Regions from separate parts of the Homo sapiens genome. Here region 1 is linked to region 2. Evidence: promoter capture Hi-C in 16 types of primary human blood cells and fetal thymus (Javierre and others, 2016). All regions are on one chromosome and are shown on one strand. The core of a region is centred on a gene start or on the middle of the fragment in contact, and the rest is flanking DNA. Distances in the headings are between cores, read along the strand shown.

Region 1 (6,130 bases), core at 1,574-4,073, about 15 Mb after region 2:
GTATTCAATATCTTTGTGTTTATACTAGCTAAAATGGATTCTATTTTCCGCAAATGAATCTTAACTGATACCACACATTGTGTACAGGAAGAATAGTGGCTGCAGACAATAGGATCTCAGGAATATGGGAAAGTAGAATTGCTTATCTGTTCTCGTAGAGTTTGAAAGTAGCAATAATTATGCTAGTACTAGAAAATGAGACACTGCCACTCTGTGGTGCACAATGGCTAAGACTGACCTATATACATTTTCTAATCTTGTCCTTGTGTATTTCGTGATCTGCTGGTTCAACATCTGTTTGTACGTTAAACACCTCAATCTTAATATTCTAAGAACGATGATCCTTCCCATTGAGCCTACTAAGACCCCCATTTTAGCAAGGACCAACACTGAGTTGCTCAGGTTAAAAAAAAAATCGTTACTCTTTGTTTTTTTTTCTTTTTTCGGGTGGGAGGGTGGAGGGCAGGGCCTCACACTGTTGCCCAGGCTGGAGTGCAGTGGTGCATCTCGGCTCACTGCAGCCAGGGGATCCTCCTCCCTCATCCTCCCGAGTGGCTGGGACTACAGGCACGTGCCACCACGCACGGCCAATTTTTGGAGTTTTTTGTAGCGATGGGTCTTGCCATGTTGCCCAGGCTGATCTTGAACTCCTGGGTTCAAGCGGTCCACCGGCCCTGGCTACCCGACCTGTTTTTTCTTACATTATCATACAGCCAATCCATCAGTAGAGCTCGTTGGCTGTGCTCAAAATATATCTTGAACCCTACCAGTTTTCAACATCCCACCATCTTATTCCAGACTACCATAATTTATTCCTTGGCTTATTGAACCAGCATCTTGGCTGACCTTTCCGCTGGTACTTTTCTTTTTTTGAGACAGAGTTTTGCTCTGGTTGCCCAGGCTGGAGTGCAGTGAGGCGATCTCGGCTCACCGCAACCTCCGCCTCCTGGGTTCAAGCGATTCTCCTGCCTCAGCCTCCGGAGTAGCTGGGATTACAGGCCTGCGCCACCACGCCCGGCTAATTTTGTATTTTTAGTAGGGACGGGGTTTCTCCATGTTGGTCAGGCTGGTCTCGAATTCCCGACCTCAAGAGATCAGCCCGCCTTGGCCTCCCAACGTGCTGGGATTACAAGCGTGAGCCACCACGCCCGACCCTGCTTGTACTCTTGAAGGTCAACGTGTAATCCCGCCACTCCCCAGCTCAGAATCATCTAACGACTCCCATCTCCTTACTCGGCTTACCCAGGGTCCTGCCTTTCTCACTCATCTCATCTCCTCCCATCTTATTTCCCAAATTGACTGCGCTCTAAGCGCCCTGGCCTCCTTGCTTCTTTTCAAAACACCAACCACATTAAGCTTCAGGACGTTTGTAACTTGCTGTTCTCTCTGCCCGCACCATTCTTCCCTCAGATTCCTCCAAGCTTTTTCATTCAGCTCTGCTCAAATGTCAACTCAAAGAGGTCTTTCCAGGCTATCGTATCTATCACTTATCTTAGCGTCACTTGTATCTCCCTCTCCAGAATGTAATGCTCCTTTATGACAGGGAATGCCTTTACATCCCTCGCGCCTTGAAAAATGCCTGGCACATAGTAGGCACCTTAAAAATACTTGATTAAATGGATTTGGGCTGAACGTATCCTGCTTAACTGCAGCACTTGAGCTGAGGTCACCTCACCAAAGCAGGCACACAAACACAAAAGGAAGCACACAACCAGATGAGGCCTGCCTGCCGCTCCTGAACCCTTTGGGAGGGCTCGCGCGGGAACCCTGGGAAGCTCCCGCGGCCGGAGCTGGGCCTGAAACTGTTCTTTCGTTTCCTCCTGCGGCCGAGAAAGGGAAGAGGTAAACAGGCGAAAATGAGGCGAGCAGGGGCTGAGGACCGGGCCTCAGCTCTACAGCATTCGCCTGAGCATGTATTGTTATCCGTGGCAGCGCCTTGTCTCATTGGATGGCCCTAGGCCTAGTGTGGCCGCGACTCCGAACTGAAAGCCCAAGCGCGGCGGCGTCCAGCCGGGCAGCCATTTTCCGAAGCTGCTCTCTTGGTAACCCCGCCCGGGCGCGTACGCACGAACGGAGGCGGGGCTTACCGCGAGGGCCTCGCTCCGGAAGCCGCACCCTCCGCGGCGTCCCACCGTCGAGGATTAACAAAACGCCAAACAAGATTTTAACAGTCGGCAGCGAAAGCGCGCACTCGAGCGCCAATGAGAGCGGAAGGAGGGGCACCGCGCCTGAGGAACACTCCGTATGTCGAACAATGATTGGCTGGAGCCCACCTTTCTTCTTTTTTGCTATTAGATGGGCTTGCTGCTCCCGCCCATCTAATTGGCTTTGGTCTAGGTACTTCTGATTGGCTTCCCCCGGGCGGTGGGAGGCGCGGTTTTGGGGATTGTTCATCATGGATTGGTGAATTTGGGCTCCTTCTCGAGGTGGTGGCCCATCCCGTCTGCTCTCTGTCCCGTCTCCCGACCCGTACGCTTTTCCCTCAACTCGCGCGCACGAATGGTTAAAAAAAGGGTGTGAGGCTCGAGCCCGCCAGCCAGGCCGCTAGCACCTCGCGCGCGCCCTCAGCGAGGACCCGCACGAGCTGCCCGGCTCTGTGCCTGCGTTGTTTGAAACTGTGGAACCCGTTAGGCTTTTGGGGAACTACAGTCCCAGCTGGCTCCGGAGCCCGTGCGTGCCAGGGGCGAGTGGCCGTCGCGAGACGGCTCCTGCCTTTCGTGTCTCTGCAGCGTGGAGACTGGAACCGGCAATTTCAAAGGACGCCACGTTCAATCGCAGCGCTGGCGCGGGCGGAGGCTAAAACACGGGGGTCCTGAGACTGAGGAAAACGCGCCAAGTTCCCCTCGGTGGCGGAGTGCTAAAGACCCTAGCGGTTCAGGCGTTCGGCGAGCGGGGCCGCTGCTTGTTGCGCTCCTGGCTCTCCCGGGGCGGGCGCAGATGGGCGCCGCTCCCGGGATGTAGTTGGTGTTGGTGCAAGACGGGAGCGAGCGGCGGTCGGGGTTCCCGCTCTTGGGAGCGGATGGTCACTCCCCCGCGGGGAGGGCGAGCCGACCAGATTTTCCTGGGGCCGGGGACCCGGCGGGCTCGGGGCAGGGACTCACCTGTCGCACCCACACTCATTCGGGTTGGACTTGCCGGCGTCACCGCCGCGGACTTCGCTTTGGGCCATGACCAGGTAAGGAGGGCCTGGGAGGAGGGGCCGGCTCCCGGGCGCGGGGGCAAGTTCGGCCGGCGCGGGAGAGGAGCTGCCGGGGAGACCCCGGGACCGTGTTGGCCTCGCACCCTGGTCGACCTGCCAGGGGGAGCCGTGTGTGCCTCGGGCGTGGCGCCTGTCTTGCCGCCGCCGGGACGCGAGAAGGCAGGTGCGGGCTGGGCGTAAATAGGCCAACTCCGCGGCGAGGGCGCCCGGCGCGGGGGTGTGGGCCGAGGACGCCGCCGCCAGCCTCCCCCGACCGGGCAGCCTGGTCGCTGCTCGTCCTTCCAGCTTTCTTTCCGTTCCCGAGAGCGGTGAAGGATGGGGAGAAAGAAACGTTTCCACGCAGGTTGCCCTGTGTCGGTAATTGCGAAATTTTACCGCGCATTTTCTTTCACTTACACTTTTTCAAGAAGTGTTTAGAACGCCGCGTGTCTTAAACCTTGGCGAAGATGTCCTTGTAGATTTTTGTTGAAAAATCGGAATCGAGTCGTGTCATCTTATAAAGAATTTAAAACTATTGGGACTGAGTGTTCACGCTGTCAACAGATAATGGTCGATTCGTCGTGCTTTCTGCGAAAGTTGATTTAGTTACAGGAGAAATATTTTGGATGTAACAGCCCCCCAGTTACAAGGAAAGCCAGGAGCAAGAAATAGCAAGGAAGATACTGCACCTGGCAAAATGTTACATTCTCGGTGTGAGCTTTGCTTTGAGGGGCTAGGAGGTTTGGTTTTTTGATTAAGCTGACGATCCGCTATTTCACCTGCCTAATCATTCTTCCCTTCTGTGTAGTCTGGTTACTCTGTCGGTTTGAGATCCAGTTTCTGTCATCCATTAAATTGGCTCTCGAGAAAAACCTTTTATCAGAATCATTAATGCTTGGCGATCCCTGAGAACTTAGCGCAGGTTGGTTTATCATTCAGAAGACAGCGCTTCCTCAGAAGCATTAGGTAGACAGGAGAGTAAGTGAAGTTGGAGACAGAATGGAGAGATGGATCAGCTTTCCAGTGCTTCCTGATTTGGGTCTCAGAAATGGTTTCAGTGTGCTGAGTTCAGTATGAATTCCTAGATCAGTGTCAGCCATGTGAAATGCTTATTAAGGATGAAATTTGAGTGAGTCTTGTGTAGTTCATTTTATTACTCTGCATTTTAAATTTGAAACTCGTTGCTGAAGTTTTGGGCTTTAAGTAATTTTATGGTAATACTCTAGTCAGATAATTTTTCCTCCCATGTCCTGAAAAATAGGCCTGATGTAGAAAATATTAACTCCTACACTCCTACAAATGTTGCCATTTTTTTTCACGTGCAAGTTTTACTTTAAAACAGGGTGGGAAAGTTGCAAATGGCAAACCAAATCATCTTTTTTTCCTACTCAAAGCACTATTTTTAAAATCCAAAGTTTTTTAAAAAGTTTGGAAAACGAGTATTGTGGTTTCTAGTGCATTAAGAATTGGATTTACACAAAGTGCATCGAACAGTTTTTTTTATCACGGTCTCAACTTTGCTTGTGTTTTATCTTTCACTTACGGTTTTAGGTATAACTTAACACCATCTCTATGCCTTGAATGCAAATTATTCTTTAATAAGCTTTTTAGGTACTTTATTTTCATATATCCATGTTAATAACTAGAAAAGGCATTGGAAGAGAGGACTCATCGTCCAGCACTACTTTGATTTTCCATTCATCCTTTCCTACCTTGTACTTGAGAATTAGAGGTGGTAGTGCTCAGTCAATATTTTCTGAATGAATCATTATAATGAAATATTAAGTTGTTTTTTTTTTGAGACTAAGTCTTGCTCTATGGCCCAGGCTGGAGTGCAATGGCACGATCTCGGCTCACTGCAGCCTCCGCCTCCCGGATTCAAGGGATTCTCCTGTCTCAGCCTCCTGAGTAGCTGGGATTACAGGCGCCCGCCAGCACGCCCGGCTAATTTTTGTATTTTTAGTAGAGATGGGGTTTCACCATGTTGGTCAGGCTGGTCTCGAACTCCTGACCTCGTGATCCACTCGCTTCGGCCTCCCAAAGTGCTGGGATTACAGGCGTGAGCTATCGCTTCCGGCCCTTGAAATAATAAGTTTTTACTACTTATACTATTTTACTGTAGGTCTACTAAATAGGATATTTTGTAATGCGACCCTTAATCCATAGCAGGCTGATTTTAAAAATTCAGTAGCTTCTGTTTTTTGTTCTTTAAGAACAGTGTGGTATGCTTCTTCATTTAAGCAATAAATATTGAGTGCTTATTGGCAGGCATTAGGTTTTCAAATGTTAATTTCTAATTTGTACCATTCCCTTGGTAAATTTGTTTTCAAAATTGATGATTTTGTTGCCAAAACTGATAACCAAAAACTAATGAAACTTTCTCTGTGATTAACAGATATAATTGGTGATTACAACTTTCCTCTATAAATTAACTCTTGACACTCCTTGGGATTTGAAGAAAAAAATGCCTGGTGTCATACCTAGTGAAAGTAATGGACTTTCAAGAGGTAGCCCTTCAAAGAAAAACAGACTTTCCTTAAAGTTTTTTCAGAAAAAGGAAACTAAGAGAGCTTTGGATTTCACAGATTCTCAAGAAAATGAAGAAAAAGCTTCTGAATATAGAGCATCTGAAATGTATGTATCTTACATTTCTGTACTTTAAAAATTCTACAGTAAAGCAGCAGTGAACTTGGTTGACAACTCCAGTCTGACTTGATAGTCTGTAGCGGCACAAAAAAGTACGCTTCAGTGTACTTCTTAGTCAAATCTAGCAGTTTATAGTAGGAACAGCAAAACTGGTGGTTCCCCGTAGGAATCACATCGATAATGTTTAACTCATGTTAACACTGTGCTCAGCCATTTAGACTAACTTGGAGAAATATTTGTTGACTAAAATTGTCTTTCTGAGTTTAAATTTGATTATTTGTAGTGCAAAACATCTGTGTAGGGGTA
Region 2 (5,777 bases), core at 2,693-5,192:
CGACAGAGCAAGACTCCATCTCAACAACAACAACAACAAAAGGCAGGGCTTGGTGGCTTATGCCTGTGATCTCAGCACTTTGTGAGGCCGAGGCGGGCGGATGACCTGAGGTCGGGAGTTCGAGACCAGCCTGACCAACATGGAGAAACCCCGTCACTACTAAAAATACAAAAAAATTAGCCAGGCGTGGTGGTGCATGCCTGTAATCCCAGCTACTTGGGAGGCCGAGGCAGGAGAATCGCTTGAACCCGGGAGGCAGAGGTTGTGGTGAGCTGAGATTGTGCCATTGCACTCCAGCCTGGGCAACAAGAGTGAAACTCTGTCTCAAAAAAAAAGAATGTTTCTTGTTTTAAGTCATTGATTTGGGAATGGCTGTTTTGTAGCAATAGATAACTGGAACAGACTCAAAGGGCCAACTAGTCATAAAGTGTTTTTTTGCCTCACCTTGTCATTCCTGGAAATGACTCCCTGGAAAACCCTTCGCAGAGATGGGTGTCTGGGTTTCAGTTTTTAGAAATCTTTCCACATTAATATTTTCCTTAGTTGCCTAACATAACTGGCAGAAGGAGACAGGCAAGGAACAGGACATTAAGTACTCAACCAACTGTGGTCATAATTATCCAGAAAGTTTTTTTCTCTGTGAAAAAAAAATCACCACATATTGCTTTAAGTAGGTTTACTAGGAAGTTTCAGACCCAAACCCCTGTGTGGAATCCTTAGTTCTGGTGTTCTATCATGGAAACAACAAAGACTGTCTTTTTGTCTCTAGCCCAAGGCCTTCACTAAAAGTATGCCAATAGCTTCCTAGCCCTTTTTCTCACAGACACCATATCCTTAAGATCTTTTAACTCTAATTGTGTGAACAAAGGAAAAGAAGACACATTTGTTTTGATATGGCCTTTTTCATACTCCTGCTACCCATTCCCAATATGACCAATTGTCCTTGTTCTTGGCTGCCCATGTCCTAGCTCCTCCTCCCCAGAAGCTGAAGGGTTTGGAGCCTTCTTTTTTTTGAGACAGAGTCTTGCTCTGTCGCCAGGCTGGAGTGCAGTGGTGCGATCTCAGCTCACTGCAACCTCCACCTCCTGGGTTCAAGCAATTCTCCTGCCTCAGCCTCCCAAGTAGCTGGGATTACAGGCATGCACCACCACATCCAGCTAATTTTGTATTTTTAGTAGAACTGGGGTTTCACCGTGTTAGCCAAGCTGGTTTCCAACCTCAGGTGATCTGCCCACCTTGGCCTCGCAAAGTGCTGGGATTACATGCATGAGCCGCTGCGCCCGGCCGTGTTTTTTTATGTGAAAATTCACATATCTAAACGTGGGTCCCTGTTTTTGTATAGCCTTCAAGCTCAAAATAATGTTCACATTTTAAAATGGATTTTAAAAATAAAAATAAATAATATTTTGGGACACATGCAAATTATATAAATTCAAATTTCAGTATCCATAGAAAAATGTTTTGTTTTTGTTTTGAGACAGGGTCTGGCTCTGTTGCCCAGGTTAGAATGTAGTAGCACGATCTTGGCTCACTGGAGTTTGCACCTCCTAGGCTCAAGGGCTGCTCCCACCTCAGCCTCCACCTCCTGGGCTCAAGGGATCCTCCCACCTCAGCCTCCCATCTCAGCCTTCCGAGCATCTGGGACTACAGGTGCACACCACCACCTGTAGTGTAGTGTAGGCCTGGCTGGGCGCGGTGGCTCATGCCTGCAATCCCAGCACTTTGGGAGGCCAAGGCAGGAGGATCACTTGAGCCCAGGAGTTCAAGACCAGCCTGGACAACATGGTGAAACCCCCTCTCTACTAAAAATACAAAAATTAACCAGGGGTGGTGGCAGGTGCCTGTAATCCCAGCTACTTGGGAGGCTGAGGCAGAAGAATCGCTTGAACCTGGGAGGTGGAGGTTGCAGTGAGCCAAGATGGCACCACTGCATTCCAGCGTGGGTGACAGAGTGAGACTCTATCCCCCCCAAAAAAATTTTTTTCCAGCTGTGATAATAAAAAATATCCCATTCTCCTTTCTATGGTGGGAAGGAAAAGGTAGAAGTTGTGGAGAGGAAAGAGGTAGAAATTAAAGGGAGAATGGAAAAGAAGGGCAAACAAAGGCAAGTAGGTGAGGAGAAGGACAGGAAAAGAGACAGGGAGAAGGGAGGGACTTATAAATGGGAAAAGAAGGGTAGGAAGGATGGGAATAAGTAAAAACAACAACAACAAAAAGAAAGCAAGGAGAGAGAGTAGAGATGGGGAAGAGCCAGAAAATGCTGAGTGAGCTAAGAAAGGACCACCAAAAGAAAAAGGAGAATGGGGGTGGTCAGACAGAGGGCTATACCACTATCTTCCTCTCCTGTTTGCTTTCGTTTACTAACGTCCTGGTCACTCTGCCCTAAACAGCTTAGTTCCTTTCCCATAGTCTTTGTTCACTCCAGCACTATCTGACTTGAACTTGTACCTGTACGACAAATCTAACACCCTGGACTCTTAGTTCTAAAAACAGGACATGCATTCTGCCTCAGTCTTCCATTCCCATGGTCTCACCCTGGACCTTGGCATCATCAGAAACTCAGAAGCTGGGACATTTCAATTCCAAATATCCCACTCAGACCAGCAGCATCCATACTGCCAGAGCACTTGCTCATATACCCCACTGCAATCTTTCTTGGGCCAATGCTCTAAGACATTGGTCCCTTTCCCCACCACCCTCCAACCCCTCCACTACCAGGCTTCATGTGCCATTATTTGCTTTCCTGTATGGTTTTGATTCTACACACAGCATCATGAACATTCTCTTCCAAACACTCTCATCACTTGGCCCCCTCTCTCTGTTGTACTTGCCAGGCAAAATCCCAACCCTCAGTAAATGCAACAAGCTGCCTTCTCTGCCTGTGCCTGAATGGCCAAACATCTTCAATTATTTTGAATCCGTTACCTCAAATATCAAATGAGCTCTTAACGTTGGCCAGAAGGCCTTTTAAAGGCCTGTATGCACCAAGGCTCAGTTCTTGAACGTCTCCTTTTCTTCTCCCTTAAGATTCTTCCCTAATGAAGGGGGCAGGCGAACGGAGTTAAAGGGCTTCCATTGCTGTTAGAATACAGCCCAAATTCCTTTCCATAATCAAAAGTCCTGATCTGCCACCGACCTCACTTTCTCAACTTTTCACCTTCCATTCTCCCCTCATTTGACTCAGCCCTGGTCTCACTGTCACTGGCCTTTTTTCCTTTTTTTTTTTTGAAGCAGTCTCATTGTCACCTAGGCAGGAGTGCAGTGGTGCTATTACGGCTCCTAGGCTCAAGTGAACATCCCAGTAGCTGGGATCACAGGCACGGGTCACGGTGCCCGGCTTTTAAATTTTTGGTCGAGACGGGGTCTCGTCATGTTGTCCAGGCTGGTCTCGAACTCCTGGGCTCAAGCCATCCTCCTGCCTCAGCCTCCCAAAATGCTGGGATTACAGGCGTGAGCCACCGCGCCCAGCCAGGCCTTCCTTCAATTGCTTTAACATGCCAAACCAACTTAGATTTTTTGCACATGCTTTTCTCTGTGGGACACTCTATCCTGGTGTTTGCCTGGTTTCGCTCTTTTCTATCCTTTTGTCTTGGCTTGAATGTCACCTCTTCTGAAGCCTTCTCTGGCGACCCTGGCCATCTTATGTCCTACTTGTTATTTCTTCAAAATCGTACTGCCTTTTGTATGTACTGGTGTTTACTCATTCACACTGGCTACCTCCCCATACCTCACTGGCTGGAATGGAAACTCATTGCGAGCAGAGACAATAGGTTTTGCTCTCCCGCGGATCACGTCCCAGCCTCCAGCTCAGCACCAGACACTTGAGGGCGCAGGATAAAATATCTGCAGTCAGAAAGCACTAATAACCACCCAAGGGTTGGAGGAAAGCTGGCGCGGACCGCACGAGTGTCGCCGAGACGCCGCCGCCGTGCGAAGCTCCTCCCCTTCCGACAGGGCCGCGGACGCCCGGGCAGCCACGGCGGCGGGGCCGCGGCGGGCGCCGGCTCAGCCCGCCCCTTTCTCCCGCCGCCTCCCCGCCCCGCCCCGCGCCGCGCCGGCCGCTGTCAGCTCCCTCAGCGTCCGGCCGAGGCGCGGTGTATGCTGAGCCGCTGCCGCAGCGGGCTGCTCCACGTCCTGGGCCTTAGCTTCCTGCTGCAGACCCGCCGGCCGATTCTCCTCTGCTCTCCACGTCTCATGAAGCCGCTGGTCGTGTTCGTCCTCGGCGGCCCCGGCGCCGGCAAGGGGACCCAGTGCGCCCGCATCGTCGAGGTGAGGCCCGGGCAGCAGGCGGGCTCCTTGGGGCTTGACGGGATGCGGGCCGGCCTGTCCCGCCGCCCCTAGTCCGCGCCCCGCGGAGTCGCCGAGCCGCAGACTACGAGTCCCGGCGGCCACCGCGCCGCCCGCGTGGCAGTGGCCGAGGGCCGCCGGCGCGCGGCGTGCCGGGACTTGTAGTCCGCGCCCGCCCGCCTTGGGGGCCACCGCTTGAGGTCGCTTTGTTCCTGCGCCCCTTCTTTTCTTACATTTTGGGGACCAGATTCGTCTCTAGAGTGGGCTGGGAGAGGGATCCCGGAGGCCAACCTTTGGGGGTCCCCCAGCGCGCAGAGGTTAGCGTGTCGCTGATCGTGTGGCAGGTGAAGGCAGCAGGAGCGCGGATTTGGGTTAGAGGCCGTGTGCGCCCACAGTTGTCTGAAGGAGAGACCTATTTTTCTTCTCCGCGCCTTCCCTCTGGTTCCCTAAACTCCGCACTGTCACCGAACGTGTCTTTACTCTAGAAAGGAGGCCCGTGGGGCGGGGTGTTATTTTAGGCGTGCTGTGGGCTGCCGCTGGCACTCTCGAGCCCCGTCCCCGCAAGCTTTAGGGCGGAGCCAGCCCTGAGGCTCGGCCCGGGTCGGGGATGGGGAAAGCCGGGAGTGCTGTTCTGAGATCAAGCTTCAACCTTTGGCCCTGCTGCCAACTCACGCTCGGCCCTCGGTCACTTCCTGTCTCCCAGCCTCAGTTAGCCCTTGTAATACAGTAAAAAGAGTCTCTGAACCCAGATTTTCTCAGGATATAAAACACCTCCCAAATGTAAAATGCTGTTACTTTTTTTTCTTTTGCTTTGAGACAGGTTACCAGTTCAATTCTTTTAACAATTTTTGAGCTAGATGTATGGTTGGTTAGCTGCATTGACACTGTGGGAAAAAAAGGCTTCATGGACAATCTGGGGAATGCTTGGGAAAGAAGGAAAACAGGATATCTAGAAACAGAAGAGGCGACCATTGGTGGCCTCTAGTGAAATCACTCTGAAACCCTGTAACCAACAAAAGTTTTTTTGACCTAGAACTTATAATTTCCTCCTCTTCTAGGATATGGCCAATATTAGCATGGGGCTTTTGCTTCTCTCCTTATATGTTCATAACAATCAACTCCTGTCCTGTATTTTATTCCCTAAATAGCATCCAGAGAAAGTTAGATGAGTTCAACAAGTCATTATGTGTTGGACAGATGTATTTATAAATATTGATCATTTTGCCAGGCGCTGTGGCTCACTCCTGTAATCCCAGCACTTTGGGAGGCCGAGGCTGGCGGATCACGAGGTCAGGAGTTCGAGACCAGCCTGGCTAACATGGCGAAACGTTGTCTTTACTAAAAATACAAAAATTAGCCTGGCGTGGTGGCGGGCGCCTGTAATCCCAGCTACTCCGAAGGCTGAGGCAGGAGAATCGCTTGAAACCGGAAGGCGGAGGTTGCGGTGAGCCCATATCGCGCCACTGCACACTAGCCTGGGCGAAAGAGTG

What was found. The method cuts DNA at HindIII sites, captures the fragments that hold promoters and counts their contacts. A CHiCAGO score of 5 or more calls a contact.
Region 1: the fragment with the promoter of USP1 here is called in contact with the fragment with the promoter of CMPK1 in region 2 in 1 of 17 cell types (total CD8 T cells); the score reaches 5.0 in total CD8 T cells.

What each region holds. Positions count from the first base shown.
Region 1 is chr1:62,434,226-62,440,355 of GRCh38, forward strand. It overlaps USP1 (ubiquitin specific peptidase 1), which reads left to right and starts at 2,824. Exons shown (of 9, transcript NM_003368.5): 1 at 2,824-3,175; 2 at 5,574-5,812. The coding sequence starts at 5,643. RefSeq lists enhancers at 1,291-2,058, 1,741-2,090, 2,059-2,826, 2,651-2,720, 5,814-5,873 and a silencer at 3,421-3,480. The HindIII fragment of the contact is 3,360 bases long and covers 1,420-4,779 here.
Region 2 is chr1:47,329,848-47,335,624 of GRCh38, forward strand. It overlaps CMPK1 (cytidine/uridine monophosphate kinase 1), which reads left to right and starts at 3,943. Exons shown (of 6, transcript NM_016308.3): 1 at 3,943-4,269. The coding sequence starts at 4,099. RefSeq lists a silencer at 3,856-4,495 and enhancers at 3,882-4,685, 4,686-5,489, 5,006-5,065. The HindIII fragment of the contact is 8,075 bases long and covers 1-4,850 here.